Linked DNA regions of Homo sapiens: region 1 is linked to region 2. Evidence: promoter capture Hi-C in 16 types of primary human blood cells and fetal thymus (Javierre and others, 2016). All regions are on one chromosome and are shown on one strand. The core of a region is centred on a gene start or on the middle of the fragment in contact, and the rest is flanking DNA. Distances in the headings are between cores, read along the strand shown. Region 1 overlaps PELI1 (pellino E3 ubiquitin protein ligase 1). Region 2 holds the start of CEP68 (centrosomal protein 68).

Region 1 (2,735 bases), core at 1-2,500, 910 kb before region 2:
AACCCAAATCCCTTGAAAGAATGACTTCTATTTACTTTGCCTGTGTAATATATTCAGAGGGAATCTGGAAAAGATGGCTAGAAATCTATAAACAGAAAGTGCTAAGTGGAATTCACTGTTTATAGACTTCAACTAGAATTTTGTCCCTTATATATAAATGCTGCCAACAATCTTTACATTGTATTATTTAAAAACATCTTCATCAGGTTTTCTTCACTTTGCTGATTTTCTTCCTTTTCTCACTGGCTTTTAAATCTGCTTTACTGTCCTCAAAGACATAAATGTAACTTTTGGAATAACATGTTTCCCGCCCCCACCCCAAAGGAGCTCCTAAAGCCACCTCAGTGCCATCATATATTAGTCATTATGAAATTTTAATATTTACAGTTAAATATATCTGTATAATAAAATAATCCAAAAAGCCTTTCTAACCTAATAAATACTAGGATAGGTCTACATTGATGTATTATGGTAAAATGTGTATGTATATATTAGTTTTCAATTCTAAGTCTTTGGCTTAAAATCTTTATCAGCTATAGAAGCTTCTGCCTAAAAACATTAGTTGTCCACGAAGCATAATGACTATCTACAGTCCTTACCACCTGACCTACTAGAAAACCATAATACATCATATTCTGAAATGATAGAACTCTTAAAATACAAAAGTGACATTCTGACAACCCAGAAGAGGCTGAACTTAAATCAAATGGAAACATCCTTTGGCTTCCCCTTTGAAACTTGCCTCAGTGGCATTTGGCAGTACTAGACTAACTTCCTACCCCGTACTTTTCAGTCATTTCCTTTAAGGGGTCTCAAAGAAATTATGAAACCTGCAAAGCCAGACTTTGCCAGTCAACACTAACTTCTGCCTGTGGATTCCAGTGACTGAGCCAAGACAGTGTTAGTAGCTTCCTTGAAGTACAAATGTTCCTGGTAAATCTGGCTTGAAAATACCACAGAAAAAGTTCAACATAACCAACTGTAAGAACATTTAAATGCCAATCTTAAGGAAAGAATGGATTCCCTCCCCCTACAAATTCCACTGAGGCAAATTTCCAGCTTACTTTTTAGAAGCAAATAAATACTACTACTATTACATTACAGCACTTCTACCATGCTAATAAAAAGCTAGGTGATAGTTTCCTCTTTAAAACCTGTACATTCACTACATGAGACACTATAACCACTTCACTACATGCAACTTTCCATACATATAACTGTTCTACTTTCCAATTATTTATTTTAAACTCAAGATCTCTTTTAACATACTATAGAAAGGGAACAGGTTAGAAGGCTTTGGGAAAAAAAATAAAATAACGAACATCTCACTTTCATTTTCTGATGCAACCACCAAAATCTAAAATGTAAGGACAACTATATAGTACAAAATTAAATTTAAGAGAATTTAGAGTAAGTGAAACTATTCACTATTACTACAGTTCTGATTATTATTTACCTGAGGAAAGAGCTAGTAGAAGTGATGCTTGGTTTAAATTTTTGGTGCTTTCCAGTATGGTACCGAAGAAATAAAAACTCACAAAATAAATAAGGTCCTCAGAGTTAAAGACTTTTCCCCAGAAGAGGTTGTTGGTATAAATAAAAAAAACAAGGAATTCATATGCTGTATTTGTACACTAAGAACAATGTTTTGAGACATGTAAATCTTATCACTCAGAAAATATTTTGTTGGCTATAAAGAAAACGCATCGTAAACTGAAACAGAACTGAATAAAGTGAACCTTTACCACAATTAAAATATTTTAAATTCACCCTATTATGAAAACTTAATAATAAATTCATTTATCCTTAAGTGTAAGAGTAATACATATTCGACACAGTAAAGGACAATGCCATTTCTGAAACAAAAGATCATGTGCAATGAAAACAAAGTAACATTTTGCAGAGTAAGAAAAAGTAAAGAGCCTGTGAACCGAAACAGATGACCTTTTCTTATATATAAAGCTTCAGTTTTTAGCACAACCAGCACCTTATGAATAAAGTTCTCAATAACATTTGTTGATATACTGTTTGATGACTAAACGACAGGAATATTGTTGGTGCTGTTAAAACCAAGGCACATTTCCTTGTGTGTAGTGATTAAAATCTGTTAAATGTACATTTTTAAAAAACCTCTGCCCTCTGTCCCCTTCTTGCTCTCTTGCCTCTAACAGACCTGCACGTACAAAAATAAAAGTAGATGGTGACGTGAGTTTATGATTTACATTAATTTCCCTACTCGGAGCATTTTTCACTAAGTCTTTAGAGGTTTTAAGATTCAAACACTATGTAAGAAGAATTATGGTTTGAACTACGTAACAATTACCTAGACATCTTTTGGACTTCAGTTAACCTGTAAGTAAAATGAGCATCTTTAACTTTTCCACGGGGCTTTGGAGAACGGGTTCTTCCTCATAAACGCTTTCATATACTCAGACACGAGGCGCGGTAGAAGATCAAGCGTATCCATCAATTTGAGAGCTTTTCACGACCTCAGTTTACCCACTTAGGGAAACGGGCGTATTAACTTGTTTCCTAGGGGACCCGGGGGTGAAATTAATTAGCGTGTTTAAAATGCTCTGAGATCCAAAGATGAAAGGAAATGTGAAAGACGCGCAGAGATGATGACAACAATCATAACAATAAAAAGAATGACTAACTTGAAGTCTGCGTTATGTAAGGGAGGAAAAGAAGTTATCAGATCCGCACAAACAAAAGGGAAACCCACCGCCCCTTTT
Region 2 (4,086 bases), core at 1,343-3,842:
TCCTTTCTTTTCACAATTGTATCTAAAGTCTATCAGTGATGCTTAACTTTACAATTTAGTCTACACATTACAACGATGGGATGGGATGATGATGAAACTGAAAGGAAGAATGGAACATCACCTACAGAAGTTAGACTTGGGCCAAATACAGTAAATGAGGAGATTTTGAGATGCCCTGCTTTGGGGAAGGGATAAGTAAATTTTGTTATAGGAGAGATGCTCGCATTTTGTTGGATGGCAGCATTTTCATTTACCTTTGAAAGCACTTCTGTGAATGTTGGGCAGCCTAAGAGACGGACTATAGTGAAGCAACTTTTGGCAACCCAGCGTCTCATTCTTCTTATTTGAGGGGAGGCCCCCACACACTGAGTCTTGGTATGAGGCTAGGCCTCCCAGACTAGAAGCCACAGTAGAAACCAGAACTCTCTTTGCCTATTGGCAATCAGAACACAGGCACATAACCTAGACTAGGCCAAGTAAATGGTCCTTCCCAAAACTTGAATCTTAAGTGAGAAGAGTTGAAAAATAATTCATGTCACCACCAAAGGAGCTGGTACGCACCCTAATCAGAGTACCAAAGCAGGATGGCTTAGCTGGTTCCTAACATTTCCAGGCCTGGTTCTCCAGCATTGCTGCTGCAAGGAGTATAACTACAGACAGCTCTAGGCCTACTTTTCCCGCGCTCAGAAACACCAAAAGAAAGAGCCTCTTTCTCCCAGCCTCATTCTCTAAAATCCCCGACAAGGGCTCAGATCATCTCAGGTTTGGTCATGTGCGCATCCCTGGGGAAATCTGAAAACAAGAGGAGGGAGACTACAGCTGGTCAGGCCTGGGTTCCACACCTCCCCTTCTCCACACCCATCCTGCCTTGGGAGACCGGAGAAGTGCGGTGCTAAAGAACCATCTGACCCAGCGGACTGCAGACAATTCCCAAAGGAAAGTTTTCCCGTCAGGCAAAAACAAAAGCTGCTCACAACACAAAATTACAGAACATCAGAACCAAAAGGAACCTTGGGACTCCTTCATCCTATCCCCTCTCTTTATAGATGAGGAAACCATACAGGATATGTACGCCTGTTTGGACTTTGTACAGTTCTCTGTCCAGCAGGGGTGACTTGGCTGTGGGATTAGGTGACTCCACTGGAGGTCTTCTGTGTATAGAAAAGATCAAGGGTCACAAACACAAATGCCTTCAGGTAGGCAGCAAATGTGTGAAGGCTGGCTGTTACTTAATGGACCAGTGGTGGTGGTGGGATTCAAATTCTTATTAAAAAACAAAAGCAAACAAACAAAGAAAAGCTATGCGATGCCCAAATAAAACCATCTGTGGGCTAGCTGCTGCTGTTGTCCAAAGTTTGTGGCCCCTGGGTTAGACAAAACCTCTGAGCTGTCCTGACAGGTCTGGGAAAACCAAACAAGTCCTTGTCTCCTAAACTACCTGGGACTCAAGAGCTCTGTAGGAAAAAATTTGTACCCTGCACCCAGCTGGGGTTGACATTTACAGACGCCTGTTTTATGAACTGGGGAGATATTCAGTTGAAGCCAGATTGCTGAAAGTGCTGCTGAGAGAAAATCATCAGAAGGGAGGGCCTCTTCCCCACGCCACCCTGGTGGTAGTTCCTCTATGCCTCCGGATTCTGCTAAGCAGTAAAAGCTAAAGGGCAGTGTCATTAAGCTCCTAGGGGATGGGATGCAGTGGCTCACACCTGTAATTCCAGCACTTTGGGAGGCCGAGGCGGGAGGATCGTCTGAGTCCAGGAGTTCAAGCCCAGCCTGGGCAACACAGCAAGACCCCATCTTTGCAAAATAGATAGATAGATAGAGATGTATGAAAGTTACTAGGTCCCATGCTGGCAGGGGAGAGAGTGAGCACCCTGGCCTCCCACAAGCTGCCTCCCACTTCCCTCCGACTCCATCACCGATTTCCCATCAGAGCAGGCTGCTCAGAGTGGCTAAGTAGCTACCAGTTCATTTTCCACACCCTTCCCATTCTCCACGAGCCAGAGCTCCACCTCCCCCCAGAAGCTGTCTTCAACCACCCGGCCTGGGGAGCTCCCCTCAGCACTGGCTCCCCGCCCCGCCTCGCAGCACCTGTTCGGGCCTCGGTCGCGCCGCCGGGTCTTGCAGACGCGAATGTAAACAGAAACACAGTGAAAGGCGTTCGGAGAGCCTCGTGACTGCGGCACGGCGGCGAGCCGGGAACATCAGTGCGTCCAGAGCAAAATGAACGAATGTACGCATGACTCCTGGAGCGACCTTCACGAGGGAAAGCGCGCCCCCCGGCACCCACCCCTAAGCGCCCCAAAATGACCAGCCTTTACACAACCCAGCTCGCAGGCGAAGCTGAGGTCGGAGCTCCAAAAGCGAGGGAGGACAGCCGCTGAAGAAGTCCCGGCTTCCCATAGGCCAGGACGAAGTAGGGGGCGGGCTCATCTTGCAGGAGCGTCCACGTATTGGTGGAGCCGCGGACTTAGAGCTGCGATTCGCTGCGCGAAATTGCCGAAAGCCCTCCCGCGGAGGGAGAAGGGGCGGGAAGAAGGGCGTGGTCAGCGCGGCCGAAGGGCGTGGTTGGCGCTCGGTCCTGCCCTGCGCGTTTTGGGCTGCGGTTGGAGGGCCGCAGTTGCAGTCAGGGTCCGCCAGCTCGGGGCCAGCGCATGGGGCTGCTGAGACCGCTCCGGACGTGCGAAGCGTTCGCGGTGCGGTAGGTAGGCAGTGTCCCGCGTGCGGGTGCTGGTGTCGGGGGTGCCGCGGCGCTGGGGGCGGTGGCCCGGGCTAGATCCGCGCGCGCGCCCGGCCCCCTCCCCCGCGTCTCTTCGGTGCCTGCGGGGCCCTTGCGGTGCGGGCCGTCTGGCCTCGCGTCCCCGCCGGCAAGGGCACAAAGGCTCCCTGGGGGGCGGGGGCGCCTCGTGCCTTCGCCTCCATCTTGCGAGCGGAACGGCGTGTGCTGTGGCGGCCGAGGGGTCGGGGCCGAGGCGGGCGGCTGGGCTTGGGAATGCCCGGGCGCGGCGAGGGAGTGCGCGAGTCCGCGCATCTGGCGGCCGAGCAGCTGCGCCGCTGGTCGGCCTGGGCCCCGGGGGAGGTCACTTTCCCTCAGGCCTCTCCCGGGCGTGGGCTGTTTACCCAGCTCCCCAGTCGGGGCTAATGCAGCTCGGGCCTTTCCCCCTGGAAAGATGGAGACCAGTGATGTCTTCTTATCGCCGCGCCCAGATGCGGAGAGAAAAAATCAAGATGTCTCATTTTTTTTGCCTCGGAGGGCTACCCTTTCTAACTGTCATCACTAGAACAGTTCTCAGCAGCCTGGGGACGAATGTCCAAAACCTGTTCCAGGCCCTTGATGATTAGTAGGTTGGGTTTAGTGTATTGTTTGTAACAAAAATGAGCGGAAGCCTGCCAGGGCAGATTGGACCTCACTGGGAATTCATCAGGACCACGAAGGGAGGTAGCGTTTGTAAATAATCTAACAGTTCTCAGATCTAGGGTATGAAGAGTGTTGTGTTAAAGTGTGTAACAAAGGTTGTTGGGTCAGTTTGCCTTGGGTTTAGTTGAAAGATCTAGAAGTCACCACTTTTTACTTTGTTCCCTCCATTCCCCTTTCCCACCCTCTGTTGAGTCAATTCTGGCCCACTTAGAAAACAACAACAACAAAAAACCCAAGGAATTCAGTTTAACCTCTTTTGCGCAAAGCTTTTTAAAGCACTTCCCCACCCTGCGACTGATAACTCCTCCCTTTTTTGGGCTACCTTCTGCAGCCTCTGTTTTTACTCATCACACTGTATTGTGGTTTCCCCAGCCCCTAGCACAATGCTTGGAACATAAAAGGCACTCAATGATGGAAGGAAGCCAAAAGGAAACAAAATCAGCGTGGTAGTCTAAAGGTGACACAACAGAAACATTTATTTAACTTCTTGAGCGAGTTATTCTTACAGGTTAGGAAGGCAGCTAAGCTCAGGCTCTCTAAGTCAAACAGGCTTTAGCTCTGCCATGTTACTAACTCTGATTAATTTTTTTTTTAATGGTGATGGGGGTCTTGCCATGTTGTCCAGGCTGGTCTTGAACTCCTGGGCTCAAGCAATCCTCCTGCCTCTG

The links. The method cuts DNA at HindIII sites, captures the fragments that hold promoters and counts their contacts. A CHiCAGO score of 5 or more calls a contact.
Region 1: a contact is called between a fragment that was not itself captured here and the fragment with the promoter of CEP68 in region 2, in 1 of 17 cell types (naive CD4 T cells). The highest score is 5.5, in naive CD4 T cells.

Annotation. Positions count from the first base shown.
Region 1 is chr2:64,140,995-64,143,729 of GRCh38, forward strand. All of the region lies in intron 1 of PELI1 (pellino E3 ubiquitin protein ligase 1), which reads right to left. Among named protein-coding and RNA genes, the nearest start is that of PELI1, 2.1 kb to the right of the region's middle. The HindIII fragment of the contact is 1,420 bases long and covers 541-1,960 here.
Region 2 is chr2:65,053,824-65,057,909 of GRCh38, forward strand. It overlaps CEP68 (centrosomal protein 68), which reads left to right and starts at 2,593. Exons shown (of 7, transcript NM_015147.3): 1 at 2,593-2,705. RefSeq lists an enhancer at 2,186-2,425 and silencers at 2,526-2,635, 2,716-3,055, 3,686-3,735, 3,746-3,825. The HindIII fragment of the contact is 3,790 bases long and covers 1-3,682 here.